2 separate regions of the Homo sapiens genome follow, and region 1 is linked to region 2. The links are contacts of gene promoters, found by promoter capture Hi-C in human tissues and cell types (Jung and others, 2019). All regions are on one chromosome and are shown on one strand. The core of a region is centred on a gene start or on the middle of the fragment in contact, and the rest is flanking DNA. Distances in the headings are between cores, read along the strand shown. Region 1 overlaps TNC (tenascin C). Region 2 holds the start of ORM1 (orosomucoid 1).

Region 1 (3,827 bases), core at 300-2,799, 700 kb before region 2:
GAGGCAAGAGTCACAGGACATTTCTTGACAGCAGTCCTGTGTTGTTTCCATCTTATTGTGTTATTTCATCAATATTTCCATTCTGAGCATTATTTTATCATCTTTATTGCCTTGTCTCAAAAATACTCGTATAATACAAAGTTCTTCTGGGAAAAGAAAAAAAAAACCAACAAGCTACATGTTAGAAAGCAAGCCTCTCTTTCATCCTTCCATTCAATTATGGAAGAAGAAAGAGATGACATGGAAAGGAGCCACAGGAGGGGAGCCCCAGCTCCAGCTCTGCTCCTCCTGCTGTGTGGCCTCTGCAAAGTCACTCTCCCTCTCTGGCTTTAGTGCCCACCACAGTACAAGAAGGCGTGGCTTCCAACCCTGAACTATCAGAGGAAAGAACCAGGGCAAAGGCAGGCAGCATGTGCACCAAGCTGTTGGACTACCATACTCACTGTAACTGAGTAATTACAAGCGGATTTGCCCATGAAATGAATGAGCCATTCTTAAACCTCACATCCCTGTAAGACTCAGAAACTGCCCATGTCAGTGAATGCCAAACAATTAGAAGCAAATAAAGTGTCTCTATTTTTTTCCCATCTCACTAGCCATTAACTTCCCCACAGTGGGGCAAGGGGCCATGTGGGGTTTCATGGATTGACTCTACCATCTGCAGACTTCGCTGAAGAGTCAAAGTTGAAACCTGGAAGCCAAGACACAGATACAGTTTTTTCTTGTAGAAAGCTTTGGCCAAAATTTCAAGGATATTTCCCCCTACTTGAGACTAGGGAAGTAATATTTACCAAGCACCTACGACGTGCCCAGCTCTGTGATAGCTCCTTTACAAACTCATTTAATCTTCATCTCATCTTTCAAGGCTAACATTATCAGATCTTAAGAAAGAAAAAAAAATAGTAAAACCGAGGCTCAGAAGATATTGAGAACTTAAGACTATTTATCTCTCAAGTAAGAACACTGATATTTAACCCTATATGTCAAATTGTAAAACTGTGTTTTGTTGAGCTGTTCGTTCTGCTATTCCATACCAAACCCCTATCAAAATACTCCATAGGAATCTCGTGAATTACAGACACACACACACACACCATGTATGTAGCTATTCAATTCTAGAACTTCTAATAATGACCTGAACTCCTTCAGAACCTATTCCTAAGGACGGCAGATTTCATCAGCCACCATTTTGCCTCAAGAGGAAAGACCAAAGCTCCATGCAAACTCAGGCGACTCTTGACTCAGGTGAAAAACTGGGTCAGATTCAGCCAGTTCCTTTGAAAGTTTCCACAACCCAGACCAACAGAGAGATAGGCAAGAGGCAGCTGTGATATACCAAATGGTCAAATTGAAACAGAACTCATTTAGTTTGAATGACTAAATAGCAATGATCAGTGAACACCTCGCCTAACAGTAACCAACCTGGAGGCCTTCTCTCTCTCTCTCTCTCTCTCTTTTTTTTTTTTAACAGGGCGTTAACTGGTTCCACTGGAAGGGCCACGAACACTCAATCCAGTTTGCTGAGATGAAGCTGAGACCAAGCAACTTCAGAAATCTTGAAGGCAGGCGCAAACGGGCATAAATTCCAGGGACCACTGGGTGAGAGAGGAATAAGGCCCAGAGCGAGGAAAGGATTTTACCAAAGCATCAATACAACCAGCCCAACCATCGGTCCACACCTGGGCATTTGGTGAGAGTCAAAGCTGACCATGGATCCCTGGGGCCAACGGCAACAGCATGGGCCTCACCTCCTCTGTGATTTCTTTCTTTGCACCAAAGACATCAGTCTCCAACATGTTTCTGTTTTGTTGTTTGATTCAGCAAAAATCTCCCAGTGACAACATCGCAATAGTTTTTTACTTCTCTTAGGTGGCTCTGGGAATGGGAGAGGGGTAGGATGTACAGGGGTAGTTTGTTTTAGAACCAGCCGTATTTTACATGAAGCTGTATAATTAATTGTCATTATTTTTGTTAGCAAAGATTAAATGTGTCATTGGAAGCCATCCCTTTTTTTACATTTCATACAACAGAAACCAGAAAAGCAATACTGTTTCCATTTTAAGGATATGATTAATATTATTAATATAATAATGATGATGATGATGATGAAAACTAAGGATTTTTCAAGAGATCTTTCTTTCCAAAACATTTCTGGACAGTACCTGATTGTATTTTTTTTTTAAATAAAAGCACAAGTACTTTTGAGTTTGTTATTTTGCTTTGAATTGTTGAGTCTGAATTTCACCAAAGCCAATCATTTGAACAAAGCGGGGAATGTTGGGATAGGAAAGGTAAGTAGGGATAGTGGTCAAGTGGGAGGGGTGGAAAGGAGACTAAAGACTGGGAGAGAGGGAAGCACTTTTTTTAAATAAAGTTGAACACACTTGGGAAAAGCTTACAGGCCAGGCCTGTAATCCCAACACTTTGGGAGGCCAAGGTGGGAGGATAGCTTAACCCCAGGAGTTTGAGACCAGCCTGAGCAACATAGTGAGAACTTGTCTCTACAGAAAAAAAAAAAAAAAAAAATTTAATTAGGCAAGCGTGGTAGTGCGCACCTGTCGTCCCAGCTACTCAGGAGGCTGAGGTAGGAAAATCACTGGAGCCCAGGAGTTAGAGGTTACAGTGAGCTATGATCACACTACTGCACTCCAGCCTGGGCAACAGAGGGAGACCCTGTCTCTAAATAAAAAAAGAAAAGAAAAAAAAAGCTTACAACTTGAGATTCAGCATCTTGCTCAGTATTTCCAAGACTAATAGATTATGGTTTAAAAGATGCTTTTATACTCATTTTCTAATGCAACTCCTAGAAACTCTATGATATAGTTGAGGTAAGTATTGTTACCACACATGGGCTAAGATCCCCAGAGGCAGACTGCCTGAGTTCAATTCTTGGCTCCACCATTCCCAAGTTCCCTAACCTCTCTATGCCTCAGTTTCCTCTTCTGTAAAGTAGGGACACTCATACTTCTCATTTCAGAACATTTTTGTGAAGAATAAATTATGTTATCCATTTGAGGCCCTTAGAATGGTACCCGGTGTATATTAAGTGCTAGTACATGTTAGCTATCATCATTATCACTTTATATGAGATGGACTGGGGTTCATAGAAACCCAATGACTTGATTGTGGCTACTACTCAATAAATAATAGAATTTGGATTTAAACCCAGGTCTTCTGGCTCCAATGTTCCTGCTCTTTCCCGGTCCCTTAATGAAAATCTCTCCTTCTTTGGGGAAATGTGTGCTGTGGCAAGAGAGTGAAGGTTGCAGAATGGGATATGGGGGCAGTTCAACTGGATGCTTCCTCAGGCTTCTACAATCCTGAACTCTGAAAACTAGGAAGAATGTCTATTAGGAATATCGCCTTCTCCTCTACACTGCAGTCCCCAAAAAGGGAGCAAGCCCATATTCCTCCAGCCTCAGACTGAACACATCTAGTGATGGGGAACCCATTGCCTGGATGGCAGGTCTGTTAGTCCTCAGCAAATATAGTGAGTCAGAACTGCTCAACGCATAACATTTCTCTTTTTAAACAAGGGTATATGGGGGGAGAGTAATTCCCAGTTCATTCTCTTAGGGATTTTCAGAAAATTGACTTATTTAATAAAATAAGTCAAGTTTGGGCTGATAGGCCTCATTCAAATGGAATGTGATGGCTCTGGAGCAAGGATCAGAGGAATTTATGGTTCCAGCCATATCCTTTGTTGCTGAGTTTATCTTGCTTTAATAAATGCTGTCATGTTAGATACACAATGTGCTGTTCCAGATCATAAGAACGGTTGCATGCAATTCAGCCATAGCAACGCTCTCCTGGCTATATAAATCCAA
Region 2 (3,533 bases), core at 549-3,048:
TAGACAGACAGCCCCCAGTTCTTCTCATCGTTCACGTCAAAAGCAAGCATGTAGGTCTTGGTGTCCCTGAGGATCAGCAAGTGAGCGAAATGCTCTTGGCCTCCCACTGGAAGAGAAAAGGAGCCTCTGGGTGAGAACATGGGATGGCACAATGGTGTCTGTCTTACAGGTGAGGAGGCCTAGGTGTGTCAGTGGCCACACAGCCCATCAGTGAAGGCCCAGGGCTCCTTTGGGCCACCGTGTGCCCAGCCCCTGCTGCATGCCCAGCTCCACGCCAAGCACTTTCTGTACATGAGATCTCAGGAGCCTCACACAGACCGTGGCTGTCAGGGCCTTTCTCCGTTTTACAGATGAGGAAAATGAGGCCCAGAGAGGAGGCTCGGGATGCTAAATGGTGTCAGTTCAGCTCCATCAGCTCCCTGCCATGTGCCACCTCTGCGGTGATGGGGGACATAGTTGAAGGTACCACCTCTCCAACATACAGGCTTCTACCATTGGTTTGCAAAGGATCTTAAAGAGGGCATGAGAGAGAGGCAGATCTGAAGCCAGCCTGGAGTTCCAATTCTAGTTCTAATTATAAGCTGTGTGACCTTGGGGAAACTATTTGAGGTCTCTGTTCTTCTTTTTCCTCCTCTAATTCTCTCAGTGTCCTCTTAGAGTTGTTTCTGAGCACATCGTTAGAGCTCAAAAATGTTAGTGGTTATTTCTCTGTGCCCAAAGCCTCCAGGGCTCTACATCCAGCCCCCACCTTATGCTGGCCTGCCCTGTTCCCACAGTGAACCCTCCTGCCTGAGGGCTGGCCCTCACCGTATCTGGAGATGGTCCCATTTTCCCGCTGGACATTCAGGTAGGTGGTGTTATAGATGCACTGGTCCTGTCTAAAGCCAAACAGAAGGCGGAAGGAAAACAGGAAGATTATTGAGAAGTGGCCAATCGCCCATCACAGTCCTGGGGCAAGAGTCTGGTGGAGATTAAAGCCAGCCCTCCCGGTTCCACCCATGGGAAGGCCAAGGCCAGGAAGAAGGAGGGACTTGCTCAGGTCTTCTGGCCAGAAGCTGAGATGGGGGTGCATTGGAATGGGGGCTCTCACCGGGTCTGGTACTCTCTGAGAAAGATCGTGTCCTCTGTCTTGTTGGGGGTGAAGTAAAAGAAGGTTGCTTGGATCTCCTGAACCGACTTATTGTACTCCTCGTTTCGAAAGGCCGATGCGATATAAAACCACTTGCCAGTGATCTGGGGAGAAGGTGGGAGCTGGTGATGGGGGCTTGATGCTGAATCTTTGACTGTCAGCTGGGAGGAGACTCAGGCAGATCTCTCCCTGATTTTGCAGATGGGGAGATGAGGCCCCTGGTGGGCAGTGCGCATGCAGGAGCTCACCCTGAGGATCAGTCATTGCCCCCCAGGCAGCCCCTCCAGGCCCAGCACAGAACCGTCCTCCGTGAAGGACTCTGCAGTGAGGCTTCTGTGTTTGGAGGCAGGGGGTGCCTCCAGAGTCCCCTGGGCTGGTGAGAATTTCACCCTGGGGACCCAGAAGAGAAAAAGGCAGAGCCGGGAGTGGGGGTCCGACCACAGCCAGCAGGGAAAGGGAAGCCCAGAGAAGGGAGGCAGCTGCCCATGTGCTCAGGACAGGGCTAGCCCAGGCACTCACCCGGTCCAGGGTGGCGTTGGTGATGGGCACCGGTACTAGGTTGGCACACAATGGGATCTGGGCTTCCAGCAGAGGTAGGAGGCTCAGGACTGTAAGAACCCAGGACAGCGCCATACTGAGACCAGGAGGCACGTGGAGCCAGGCAGTGCTGGTGGCTGCAGGGTGCAGTCACCTTTATAATAAACTATGGGCGGTCACTTGGAGCCCAGCAAAAGTTTACTCTGTGTCTGTGACACAATCCTGCCAGCACTTGGGAAATGCCTCGCACAAAACCTCCCCCAAAGGCCAGCTCGGAGCACCGCCTCCAAACCCAGGTCTAATTTGAGTTCCTCACATGGAGAGGTTACAAAAGCCCTAGAGTATGGCTGCCCAAGGCCAAGGTGGGTGCGGGGCTGCAGCAACATTAGTAAACGTGTGAGTCCACAGATTTCCTAGAGAGGCCTCCCGCAGAGGAATCTCATGTCTTCATTCAATTCCTATCCCTCTGAGTGCCAAGACTTACTTCAGTGGGACCCAGCCACAAACCTAATGATGAAGCCACCTTTGAGGGTCCCCAGGCTGGCATGGGATGTATGTTGTGGCGGGGAGAGTTGGGGTGAAGGATGCCGGGGAAGACAAACATAGATTCAGTTCCACTGAGTGTGGCAACAGCTGTGTCAGAGCCAAAGTTCATTGGGGCCCCAACCCAGCCCTGGACGCAGGCACATTTCCAAAAAGGGACATCCAAGTTGAATGTCTATTTCCAGTAAATATACTACTCGAAGCATCTCCCAACATCTCAAACAGGAAACTGTCTCCCTGTTTTCCCCCATTCCCTGCCATCTGAGCAGGCAGCTTGCTTCTCTTTCACCAATACGCCCCCAATCCTGGAGCAGTGCCCAGCACTTCAAGGGCACTCGGTATATTCTGTGGAATGAGTGATTCCGTGGCCCATTTGTGTTCCTACCTCACGGGTCAAGTCTTTATTTGTATGAATAAATACTTTCAGAAAGTATTCATTTTTTTTTTTTTTTGATACGGAGTTTCACTCCCGTCCCCCAGGCTGGAGTGCAATGGCTCAATCTCGGCTCACTGCAACCTGTGCCTCCTGGGTTCAAGCGATTCTCCTGCCTCAGCCTCCTGAGTCGCTGGGATTACTGGTGCCCTCCACAACGCCCAGCTAATTTTTTTTGTTGTTGTTATTTTCAGTAGAGATGGGGTTTCTCCATGTTGGCCAGGCTGGTCTGGAACTCCCGACCTCAGGTGACTCACCCGTCTCGGCCTCCCAAAGTGCTGGGATTACTCAGAAAGTATTCTTACGGTATGATTATAATTTTGCATTCTTATTCATTTCATTCTGAATAACTTTCATATTTCAGTGTAGTTTGTAGTTAAAAGCTTAATGGACCCAAGATGGGAGAGTCACCTGAGTCCTGGAGTTCAAGACTAGCCTGGGCAACATAGTGAGACCCTATCTTTACACAAAAATATTTAAAAATTAGCCAGGTCGGCCAGGCGCGGTGGCTCACGCCTGTAATCCCAGCACTTTGGGAGGCTGAGGCGGGCGGATCATGAGGTCAAGAGATGGAGACCATCCTGGCTAACATGGTGAAACCCCATCTCTACTAAAAATACAAAAACAAAATTAGCTGGGCGTGGTGGCAGGCGCCTGTAGTCCCAGCTACTTGGGAGGCTGAGATGGGAGAATGGCGTGAACCTGGGAGGCAGAGCTTGCAGTGAGCTGAGATGGCGCCACTGCACTCCAGCCTGGGTGACAGAGTGAGACTCCGTCTCAAGGAAAACAAACAAACAAACAAAAAAATTAGCCAGGTCTGGTGCCATGTACCTGAAAGCCTAGCTACTCTGGACTCTGAGGCTGGAAGATTGCTTGAGCCCAGGAGTTCAA

The links. The method cuts DNA at HindIII sites, captures the fragments that hold promoters and counts their contacts. A contact is called where the count stands out against the background at its distance.
Region 1: a fragment that was not itself captured here is called in contact with the fragment with the promoter of ORM1 in region 2 in 1 of the 25 tissues and cell types used here (spleen).

Annotation. Positions count from the first base shown.
Region 1 is chr9:115,018,912-115,022,738 of GRCh38, reverse strand. TNC (tenascin C) reads left to right here. Exons shown (of 28, transcript NM_002160.4): 28 at 1,472-3,164. The coding sequence ends at 1,582. Among named protein-coding and RNA genes, the nearest start is that of TNFSF8, 90 kb to the right of the region's middle. The HindIII fragment of the contact is 3,565 bases long and covers 1-3,331 here.
Region 2 is chr9:114,321,363-114,324,895 of GRCh38, reverse strand. ORM1 (orosomucoid 1) reads right to left here and starts at 1,798. Exons shown (of 6, transcript NM_000607.4): 1 at 1,649-1,798; 2 at 1,091-1,233; 3 at 808-878; 4 at 1-106. The coding sequence starts at 1,762. The HindIII fragment of the contact is 10,741 bases long and covers 733-3,533 here.